Linked DNA regions of Homo sapiens: all the other regions are linked to region 3. The links are contacts of gene promoters, found by promoter capture Hi-C in human tissues and cell types (Jung and others, 2019). All regions are on one chromosome and are shown on one strand. Each heading gives the region's core, a stretch centred on a gene start or on the middle of the fragment in contact. The rest is flanking DNA. Distances are from core to core; before and after follow the strand shown.

What was found. The method cuts DNA at HindIII sites, captures the fragments that hold promoters and counts their contacts. A contact is called where the count stands out against the background at its distance.
Region 1: the fragment with the promoter of ADIPOR2 here is called in contact with the fragment with the promoter of KDM5A in region 3 in 1 of the 25 tissues and cell types used here (hippocampus).
Region 2: a contact is called between a fragment that was not itself captured here and the fragment with the promoter of KDM5A in region 3, in 1 of the 25 tissues and cell types used here (dorsolateral prefrontal cortex).

Annotation. Positions count from the first base shown.
Region 1 is chr12:1,689,268-1,692,532 of GRCh38, forward strand. ADIPOR2 (adiponectin receptor 2) reads left to right here and starts at 1,803. Exons shown (of 8, transcript NM_024551.3): 1 at 1,803-1,924. RefSeq lists enhancers at 1,306-1,465, 1,486-1,535, 1,619-2,197 and silencers at 1,696-1,995, 2,016-2,105. The HindIII fragment of the contact is 10,259 bases long and covers 1-2,980 here.
Region 2 is chr12:1,606,684-1,610,321 of GRCh38, forward strand. No RefSeq gene overlaps it. Among named protein-coding and RNA genes, the nearest start is that of FBXL14, 14 kb to the left of the region's middle. The HindIII fragment of the contact is 7,541 bases long and covers 1-3,638 here.
Region 3 is chr12:388,070-391,816 of GRCh38, forward strand. It overlaps KDM5A (lysine demethylase 5A), which reads right to left and starts at 1,251. Exons shown (of 28, transcript NM_001042603.3): 1 at 858-1,251. The coding sequence starts at 1,022. It overlaps LOC105369594 (a long non-coding RNA gene), which reads right to left. Exons shown (of 4, transcript XR_007063149.1): 3 at 3,652-3,747; 4 at 1,964-2,872. It also overlaps a transcript of CCDC77 not described here. RefSeq lists an enhancer at 1,414-1,708. The HindIII fragment of the contact is 14,723 bases long and covers 1-3,747 here.

The DNA of each region.
Region 1 (3,265 bases), core at 553-3,052, 1.3 Mb after region 3:
CAAGTGATTCTCCTGCCTCAGCCTCCAGAGTACCTGGGATTACAGGCACGCGCGACCATGCTTGGCTAATTTTTTGTATTTTTGTAGAGACGGGGTTTCGCCATGTTGGCCAGGCTGGTTTTGAACTCCTGACCTCAAGTGATCTGCCCATCTCGGCCTCCCAAAGTGCTAGGATTACAGGTGTGAGCCACCACGCTTGGCCTGGAAACCAGTCTTTAAGAGAAAGGGATGCAGGAAAGATTGGAGATCTTTGAAGAATCTCTTTTTAAGAAAATTATCTTTTTCGCTCTAGTTCTGTCACCTTTAGTAGACTCTTTATTAAGCCTAAGAATCTTATACTTCTTATCTCTGTTCTATGTGAGTTGGTATAACGGGTCAAATTCACAATCCAGAAATGCCTGTATTGTTTCTGATGTGCTGAGGAGGTGTACAATTGTCTTCCTTGATTTCAACCTCAAAAGCTTTACATCTTTACCTGGGAACATAGAAGTCATTATTATTATGTCTTTCACAAATTATGTAAACTTAAAAAAATTATATTTTCAATGTAAACCACTCCTTGGAGGAAATTAGTTCCTTTAACATTTATTTCCTAATTTTAATTTCTACTAGTTTTATCTCTTTCAAGCTTAAATGAGTGGGCCTTAGTTCTGTATTATTGCCATCTTAATCATGTTCTTTGTGATTTTAGTAGCTTTACTTTTTAAAACTTACATTTCCATAATGAAGACTTCTGTATTTTTGTTTTTTTCGTCATATATCCGACTCCAGCTCCCTCAAGACCTGTCAGCTTTTCCCTGCACCCTTTGTTATCTCTTGCTGTGGTCCAAAGGTAAGGACAGTAAGCCGTGGGCACAGACTTTCCCTAAATCGTATGGATTTCCTTTAGTCAATAACAAGAATTTTGATAGTTAAGGCATTTACGCCTTAAGAATGTGATAAATTCCCCCTCCTACTGAATGTAAAGAACTATTTTTCTACGCAGACTAACTCTTATATTCACTTTTCTTATAGAATAAGTACGTAACCAAATCTGTTCTTGGCTTCTAAGAAGTTAGAACTCAACGTAAAGATGACTTGTGGAAAATTACTTACTCATTCTGGGTAAATGGACGCAGGTATTTAGTGCTTAAGTAGGTTCTGATATACCATTACATTAACATCATTTTAAAAATCGCTCTGAATTATATGTATTTTAAGAGTGACTGGGTTTTAAAAAAAATAGAAGTGGTAGAGCATAAATCATAATCTTTAATAAGGTAATAAAAGGCAAACACTATTGCTCTGGGCAAAACTGGGCTAATGCTTTTGGATTTCTTTCCGCAGTCTTCACAGACGACGCTCAGCATCCTATCAGCCCTTGGCAGAGACACACGATCCAGCCTAAATCCTCAAATTCTGGCTCTTGCCCAAAGTGTGTAGCCAGTATCCATAGAGACTGCGAAAAGCATCCGCGAGCCGGGGCGGCCCCCTCCTCCTCAGCTCCAAATTGCTTCCTTTTTCGGTGGGAGAAAAAACTCCGAGGAGTTGTGTGAGCGCCTAAGGAGCGCACGCTCCTCCGGCCCTCAACACCCAGTATAGTTTTCGCTAAGTTCCTGGCCGAACCACAGCTCCCACGATGCACCCAGGTTTTAGAGCGGTCAGAGGGGCGGCTTCCGGTTTAGGACAGCGCGGCTGCGCACGGCGTGTGGTCTTATTGGCTCGAACCGCCTCGTGCGATGCGCGTCACGGCGACGTGCGGTCGTGGGGGCGGGGAGACGCGGCGGCGGCGGTCGCTGTCGCGGCGGCGAGAGCGCGATTCCAGAAGCGGCATCGCGGCGGCGGCAGCGGCGGCGGCTACACCGGGCTTGGCCCCCTCCCTCCTCCGTTCCCCCCTCCTCCCCCCTCCCCTCAGCGGTGGCTCCCAAGAAGTCCGAGACACGCGGTGAGGCGGCGACGGGCTCCGGGTGAGGGTCTCTGGAGTGTGGGCGCCGTTTCCTGGGCGCAGAGGGAGAGCTTGGGGTCGGGGGGAGGTGAGAGCTGAGGGGCGAATGTCCCTGGCGCGGGCGGGAGAGCGCGCTCTCGGCCCGGCCCGCAACTTGATTCCTAACTCTGACCTGCCGCCCGGCGCGCCTTGGCCTGAGGGTCGGCCGTGTGGGGACCTGGAGCCGCCCTCCTTGCGACCGCTGTCGGAGGAGTCCGGCGCCCGCTGTTCCCCTCGCCTCGCCTTTCGCGGCGGAGGGTCGGAGCCTGCTGCCCTCTGCTCACCTTCGGGTGCAGTTGCTCCAGCTCCCTGCCCGCGGAGAGGATCTGCCCGCCCCTCTTCGTCTCTTGTCTGTTTTTATCACTTCTAGGAATTTGTTTGGTGGAGGCTTGGGATGGGCTCTCTCAGCGCTACTTTCACAGTGACTGGGGTGGGGAAGAGTTCCCTCACCTTTTTCAGGTGGCGCGTCAGGCAGCCTGCTTGGTACCTGGAGTCCTGTTTTCCCAAGCCCCCGTCCGTCAGTGTTCGCTTCTTCTAAAATTACCGATGACAGGGTTATAAATCAGTTTTTAGGGGGCTCGGAGAGAGTTTGGGTTGGAAACTGTTAGCTCTTTTTTCCTCCTGGCTTTTGATCTTGATTTAAGCGTTTGCCTCTGAAATTTTGACAACTTCATAAGATGGTCCAAAAGTGAATTTTGGTAGAAAGATTTAAATGCACAGTTGGGATTTTATGGGGGTACGGTGACTTCATTGCAGGTTGTTGACTTTTTTTTTAAAATAAGATGTTCTTTTAATTTTTTGACTCTGGGTTTCTGAGCCTTGGTTATTGTCCCCCATTTCTGTTCCAAAAGCAGACTTTTTTTTTTTTTATCACCCCTTCCCCTCACCCAGAGAATCCCTTTAAACGCCAAGAAAGCTGTCATAACATTTAGCATTATTTGATCACAGAACTTTTCCAAATGAAATGCTAAAAATTCCTTCAGAAAAAAGCATCCATCTACCCATAGCATTATTTTTTGGGGGGAGGCTATACGTCTTGTCAGTTCTGAAAGTTTGAAGTGACCTCTTATCAAAGGCCACCCTTATGTCTCCTTAAACGACTCTTAGGTAATTCCTAGATGTTTTCATCCGTTCTGATAAATTTGTTGTCAGAGTGTTGATTGTGATGATCTGCAACTAAAATTATTTCATCAGTAAAGATTTCCACACATGTGGCAGCTGCTTGTTGGTGAATTATGAAATTTGAAAAAATTGCAAATTAAATGTGAAAGGCATATTTCTTTTAACTTCTGATTGTAACTG
Region 2 (3,638 bases), core at 599-3,098, 1.2 Mb after region 3:
CGAGGTAGGCAGATCACTTGAGGTCAGGAGTTTGAGATCAGCCTGGCCAACATGGTGAAACCTCATCTCTACTAAAAATACAAAAATTAGCCAGTGTGATGGTGTACGCCTGTAATCCCACCTGCTCAGGAGGCTGAAGCAGGAGAATCGCATGAACCTGGGAGACGGAGGTTGCAGTCAGCTGAGATCGAGCAACTGCACTCCAGCCTGGGCGACAGAGCAAGACTCCGTCTCAAAATAAACAAACAAACTAACTAACTAACTAACTAACTTACTATTGAAGGCCAAAGAGTTCAAGTAACTAACATAAGAAATCAGTGGCTACTGTTGTAACCATCAAGAATTCTTTAATGGGCCAGGTGCAGTGGCTCAGGCCTGTAATCCCAACACTTTGGGAGGCCAAGGCAGGTGGATTACGAGGTCAGGAGTTCGGGATCAGCCTGGCCAACATGGTGAAACCCTGTCTCTACTAAAAATACAAAAATTAGCTGGGTCTGGTGGAGCACACCTGTAATCCTAGCTACTCAGGAGGCTGAGGCAGAATTGCTTGAACTGGGGAGGCGGAGGTTGCAGTGAACTGAGATCACGCAACTGCACTCCAGCCTGGGTGACAGAGCAAGACTCTGTCTCAGAAAAAAAAAGAAAGAAAGAAAAAAAAAAGAATTCCTTAATTTCCTTAATTTAACTGGTTCAGGGAACCTAAATGAGAGTTGTCACATAATAGCAAATCTTAGTGACCAGATGACACTCAAAGCAGGTGTAAATATTTAACAAAAGCACTGTGTAGACATTTAATGACAATGGTTGCTTTTTGTTTGCTTGCTTTTTATTTGTTTACAAATGAAAATAAAGCAGAGAATGAGAAGTCACTTTCTCAGGGTCACGGGAACAATTCAGGTTGAACGCATCTCTCCTCCGACATGCCGAGCGTCTTTGAGTCTCCTCACCCAGGCGCACACTCAGGATTGCAGTCATCTGCTATTGTTGCCTTTATTTATTTTGAGACGGAGTCTCGCTCTTGTCACCCAGGCTGGAGTGCAGTGATGCGATCTCGGCTCACTGCAACCTCCGCCTCCCGGGTTCAAGGGATTCTCCTGCCTCAGCCTCCCGAATAGCTGGGACTACAGGCATGTACCACCACGCTCAGCTAATTTTTTTTTTTTTGTATTTTTAGTAGAGACGGGGTTTCACCATGTTGGCCAGGCTGGTCTTGAACTCCTGAGTTCAGGTGATCCACCCGTCTCGGCCTCCCAAAGTGCTGGGATTACAGGTAGGAGCCACTGCACCTGGCCTATTGTTGCCTTTTTACTTGATATTTCAATAAATTTGTGAGCAATTGGAATGGTAAGAAATTCGCTGCAGTACATAAAAGTTTGATCACTTAGACTGCTGTGTGATTAGGGTTGCTCAGTGATCTTCCGGCAATAAAGGGAGGAAAAGGAGAAATTTCAGATGGAGTGATGATGGATGTCCTCAGGCATGTCAATGGCTGCTGAAGTGCTATGGGAAAATGGAAAACACAATCTTTGGGATCCCTCTTTCAGCCATTTTCCTGCTTTTATATCTATAAACTTTAAAAAGTAGGGCATACTTTAAACAATAGTATACTAAGAAATTGTCACCGCTGGCAGAGCCAAAATTGAATCAGCTTGCCTTGTGATTACATCAGAAATGTGTCTTAGTCTGTAAAGCTTCACTACAGGAAATGCCCAGGAGCTGCTAATAAAGTTTAATACACATTTGCTTCCTTAATGCTATATTAACATCCTGACCATCACAACTTTCATTGTAAACCTATTGCTTATTAAAAACACCCTGTAAGATGTCACAAACTGACAGAAAGTTGGGGCTACTACATGAATTAATATGCTAACTAGTATTTTTCAGTGTTATATAGTATAAGATAGTAAGTGCTTGAAATATGAGCATTTTGAAATCCTTGGCCAGCATAATCCCATGGGTAACACTGAATTATCCATGGCTGTGGGAGAGAGCAGGTGGTTCACTTCCAACCATGGGTTGTGTTCCAAACTAAGGGTTTTTGTTTGTTTTGTTTTCTTTCTTTTAAAGAAAATCAAGTTTATTTTTGAAACTGTTCATTTTAATTCTAAGACAAAGCTAGAAAAAGAAGAATGGAAGATCTGGAAAAAAAGCATTGTCAACTGTCACTGTCCTACCATGGGAAAGAAATGTCTTACAAACGGAAAAAAAAGTTGGAGAGAACGAGAAGTTTCTGGTGTTATGTAAGAGGAAGCGCCCAGATTACATATAAAAGTCAACTGCTTCACGCCCTGTTACTAAATATTAGGGATGCAAAATACGTGGTGGCAGTAAGTCAGAGCCTGGTTTCCTAAATATTTCTTACATGTTAGGGATCCTGAGAGATCCCTAAACAAGTAGAAAATTCTTTTTTTTTTCTTTTTGAGACAGGGTCTCACTCTGTTGCCTAGGCTGAAGTGCAATGGCATAATCATGGCTCACTGCAGCCTCAACCTCCTGGGATCCTGGGCTCCTGGGCTCCTGGGGTGATCCTCCCACCTCAGCCTCCCGAGAAGTTCCACTACAGCCAGCCACCACGCCTGGCTAATTTTGCATTTTTAGTAGAGACGGGGTTTCTCCATGTTGGTCAGGCTGGTCTCGAACTCCTGACCTCAAGTGAGCCACCCGCCTCGTCCTCCCAAAGTGCTGGGATTACAGGTGTGAGACACTGCGCCCGGCCAACAAGTGGAAAATACTATCCTGAATGAGTGTGTGTGTGCCTGCTGGGAGAATATTTCCTAGTGTTTCCTAGATCCTTGTTAGTTGACTTCCCACCCACAAAGCCCCAGAAGGAGTAAACTGTCTCTAAATATCAGAATAAACAACAACAATAAAACAACTTTTATATTTTCATTTCTTTTTCTTTTTGTTTTGTTTTGTTTTGTTTTGTTTTGTTTTTTGAGACAGGGTCTCACTCTGTTGCTCAGGCTGGAGTGCAGTGGTGTAATCATGGCTCACTGCAGCCTTGAACTGCTGGTCTCAAGCAATTCTCCTGCCCCAGCCTACCAAGCAGCTGGGACTACAGGCATGCGCCACCACACCCAGCTAATTTTAAAATTTTTTGTAGAGACAGGGTGTCCCTATATTGCCCAGGCTGGTCTCTAACTCCTGGTCTCAAGTGATCCACCTGCCTCAGCCTCCCAAAATGCTGGGATTTCCGGCGTGGACCTCACTGCCCAGCTAAAACAACTTTTAAAAGGTATATTAGAGATCCAACTAGATTCTACTCTTGCATTTATCTGCAGCATATCAGTTTGGTTTGCCCATGGTTAGGTGGTTCTTGGTCTGGGTCTTAGTTTCATGCGTCTATGCATATGTGGAAACTCATCAAGCTGTACATTTAAGACTTGTGCGTTTTAACTCTGTGTGTTTTGTTTCAATTTTAAAAAGTTTTTATTTATTTATTTTTTAAGTCAGAAGGGGTTTAATGGGTCAAGAAAAGTTTACTTCTGTGCACACAAATTATCTCAAGGTCTGTTTGTTCAAACAGGGTAACCAAACAGGGACCGATTCTACAGTGGCTGCTGCCCGGAGTTTTACACAGATGGGAGCATGGCCGTACCCCTGAACCCTCCAACCTTCTCTTGCCTGTGATTACC
Region 3 (3,747 bases), core at 1-2,500:
TTTAAACAAGCATCCAGTTGACCCTGGTGCAAGTGGTCCAGCAACATCATTTAAAAAGCACTGGTCTAATGAGTAAAGAAAAACACCTTTGACCTTGAGTAATCACTCAACCTCTTGGGGCATTAATCCCCTCCACACAAGGGATAGTATCTGTTTTCCTTACCTCAAAGGTGAGATTATAATTAACCTTATAGGCAAACCTAGTTATCTGCAATAACTGTGATTCTAAAATCGTTGATCTTGAGTTCCCTACGTCAAGAGATTTCAACATTTCCTTCCACCTCCACTATAAACCAATTTTTCCTAAACCTCTAAATTTTAGAATTATTGCTGCTCCTTCTCTTTCCCCGCTAAGACTTTTTCACTGCGGCAATAATTAGTCTGGAGTTCTTGTCTAGTAATACCATCCGGTGAGACTAGAGCTCAGATAACCTTTTCAGAAACCCTAGCCCTGAGATGAGGCCTGCAAATATTTGATCCAACCAGGTCTTGAATAAAGAGATAGCCGACTATCAAACCATAATGAGGATACGTGAGGGAAGAATACGTCACGTCATAATACTGTACTTTAAACACCATATCGGCTAACGAAAGGCTTTAGGCCCACGGCTGAGAGAAAAGTATCAGTTCCCAAGTTCTAGGCGGAAGAGGCCCAAGAGACACCACTTTCTCGCTTTCAGACGTGTCTACATAAGACCACAAAAGAAACCGAGGCAAAAACATCCAGAAACAGGCTCCAGTTGTCTCAAAAGAGAGTACATATGAAACGAGACAAGGATCAGAAAAGTAAAGCTAAACCCAGTGTACGGACTCCCCCATTCTTCCTTCTCCCCCTCTCTCTTCACAGACTGAGGTACCTTGGGCGGCCGAATTTTGCAGATGCCGGTTTTCTCCGCCAAAGGCCGGATGCGGCCGATAAAGCTGAGCGGATCTGTGAACTCCTCCCAACTCGGCTCAAAGACGGGGCACTCTGGCGGTGGCACGAACTCCGCCGCGTAGCCCCCCGGCCCCACGCCCGCCATTGCAACGGCCGGGGGGGGGGGGGGGTCCCCGTGGGGAACCGGTGGAGAAAAGCTGGCTGAAGCCCACTAAGCCCGTTCAAGTCCCCTGACAGAGGCCGAAGCGCATCTTCGCGGACAAGAACCGTTCAACACAGAAACCCCAGAATCGCTTCCTCCTCCCGTTTGTTATTGTTTCTTGCAAGGCTTTTCCACTGAGGTTCAGGACTTTTCCGGAAGTTACCGTGCTGTCAAATCCCTCCGCCCCCTGCAGGAAACGGAATCCTTCCGCAGCTGCACGACGCCTGTGTGTCTGGCCTTTCCTTCTTCTTCTCTTCCCCGGCAGCACAGTGTGGCTGTTTGTCTCCTTGCCCGCCAAAGTTCTGCCCAGTCCAACGACTCCACGCAGCTCGCCCTTGGTAAGGGGTCGGGGAGGGGCACAAGCTCTTCTTTACTAGAGGTACGGATTGAGGGAAGCCGACGGGGCGAGGCGGGGCGAGGCGCAACGAGGCGGGGCGAGGCGCGACGCGACGTGACGCTTTCTTCCGGCGCGGAGGAATGTGTAATGCCCCAGAGGGCAGAGGTTGTGCTTCCGGTGAGGAGGGTCCCTTTCCCTTTTGTGTATCAGTGCACTCGAAAACACGCCGGGCTTAATCTTAAGCACCGCGCCTCACCGCCCGTGCTTCGTAATTTGTTTTAACCTACCCTGCTGCGTTTATAGCAAGTAGCCTTTCCAGCATTTCTCTTTTTTTAGCCCTTTGAATGCAGATATTTTACAGTAATCTCACTCTGCCACTTTATACCCGCCTCTTCTCCATCAAAACAAGTGCAGGTCTAACCCATCCCCTAAATCCTGCCAGCTGGCTTTAGCCACCATCCATGAATTGCTTTTCCTTTTACACAGGACGCAGCAGCTCTCCTGAATTACCAGCCAGTATCGTCTAGCTACCTGCAGGACATCTCACTTTGATAACTCAAAGTACTTTAATTGTTCACTGTTTCTTCAGTGTTCCTGGTTTCCATTAATGACTTCATCTATTCAGTTGCCTGAGCAAAAAAAAAAAAAAAAAAAAAAAATCAAGAAATAATCCTAATTCTTTCTGCTCTCACTTCCCATGTATAATCGTGTGTCTCTCCATCCCCGTTACCAGTATCCTAATTTAAATACTCTTACTGACAACAGCTGATTTCTCCTCTCAAATCCCTCTCCATCCACACGTTGGATTGCTTTGTCTAAAATCCAGAATTCATCTTGTCACTTTTCATCTCCAAACTCAACAACTCCAAACATCTTTTTTAATTGCTGATTTGCTGCTTTGCTCTCCAGCTTCATCTCTCCTGCTTCTCCATATGATCTACAGAAGTTTTTGTGGTGACTTTAGTACACCATGATTTTTCTCACCTCTGAGTAACAAATCAGGGGACTTTGAATAACGCAGATTGCCCTCCATAATGTGAGTAGGCCTTATCCAATCAACTGAAGGCCTGAATAGAACAAAAGACTGACCTTCCATGAGCAAGAAGGAATTTTGCCAGTAGATGGCTCTCAGACTTGAACTGTAGCATCACCTTTTCCCTGGCCTCCAGCCTGCCAACCCACCCTGCAGATTTTGGACTTGGAAGCTCTATAATCAAGTGAGTCAAGTCCTTAAAATAAATATCTTTATAAACACACACACACACACACACACACATCTTATTGGTTCTGTTTCTCTGGAGAACCGTGAATACATCTAGGGTTGGAGGGTTCAAGATGGCCTCACTTACGTGTCTGGCAGTTGGTGCTGGCTATTGGCTGGGAAGTCTTAGTTCTCCACATGGCTTCTCATCTTCTGGTAGATGGAGCTTTTCCACTGCATGGTGGTCTTAGCATTCTAAGAAGATGAGAGTGGAAGCAAAGACCTAAAGCCTAGACTCCAAAATGTACAAGATCACTCCATCATATTCTGTTGGTCAAAGCAAGTCATAAGACCATCCCAGATTCAAGAAGTGGGAAAATTCCAATTTTTTATGAGAAGAGTGACAATGTCACATTACAAAGGGGTGTAGACACAGGACGCTGTGATTCATAATAATTCCATACAATTATTATAATGATTTATGTCCAGGTGCAGTGGCTCACGCCTGTAATCCCAGCACTTTTTGAGGCCAAGGCGGGCAGATCACCTGAGGTCAGGAGTTTGAGACCAGCCTGGCCAACATGGTGAAATCCTGTCTCTATTAAAAATGTACAACAATTAGCCCAGGCGTGGTGGCAGGCGCCTGTAATCCCAGCTATCCAGGAGGCTGAGGCAGGAGAATTGCTTGAACCCAGGAGGTGGAAGTTGTAGTAAGCCGAGATCGTGCCACTGTACTCCAGCCTAGGCAAGAAGAGTGAGACTCTGTCTCCAAAAAAAAAAAAATTTACAACAAAGTCTTTGATTTTTACCACTTAAATCTGGAAAACTATATTATTCGGAAAAAGAAATAATGGAATTCCGAATAAAACAAGCCACTGATAATTCATTTTATTAAACATTCAATTAAATGTAATGGTTTTGCTTTCAAATTAACAGAGCGTGAGAACCTGATAGAACCTCAGTATAAGCACAAATCCTTAAAAGCTTTGATTGGTCCTATTTATTTCCTGTTATTTTCTTCAGATTATACTTACCTATTTTATTTTAAACTGTCTCTCTAGTAGAATAGAAAATGTATAATGATTCTCAATCATTTTTATTTGCCACAGTACTTCTGAGAAATCTGTAGT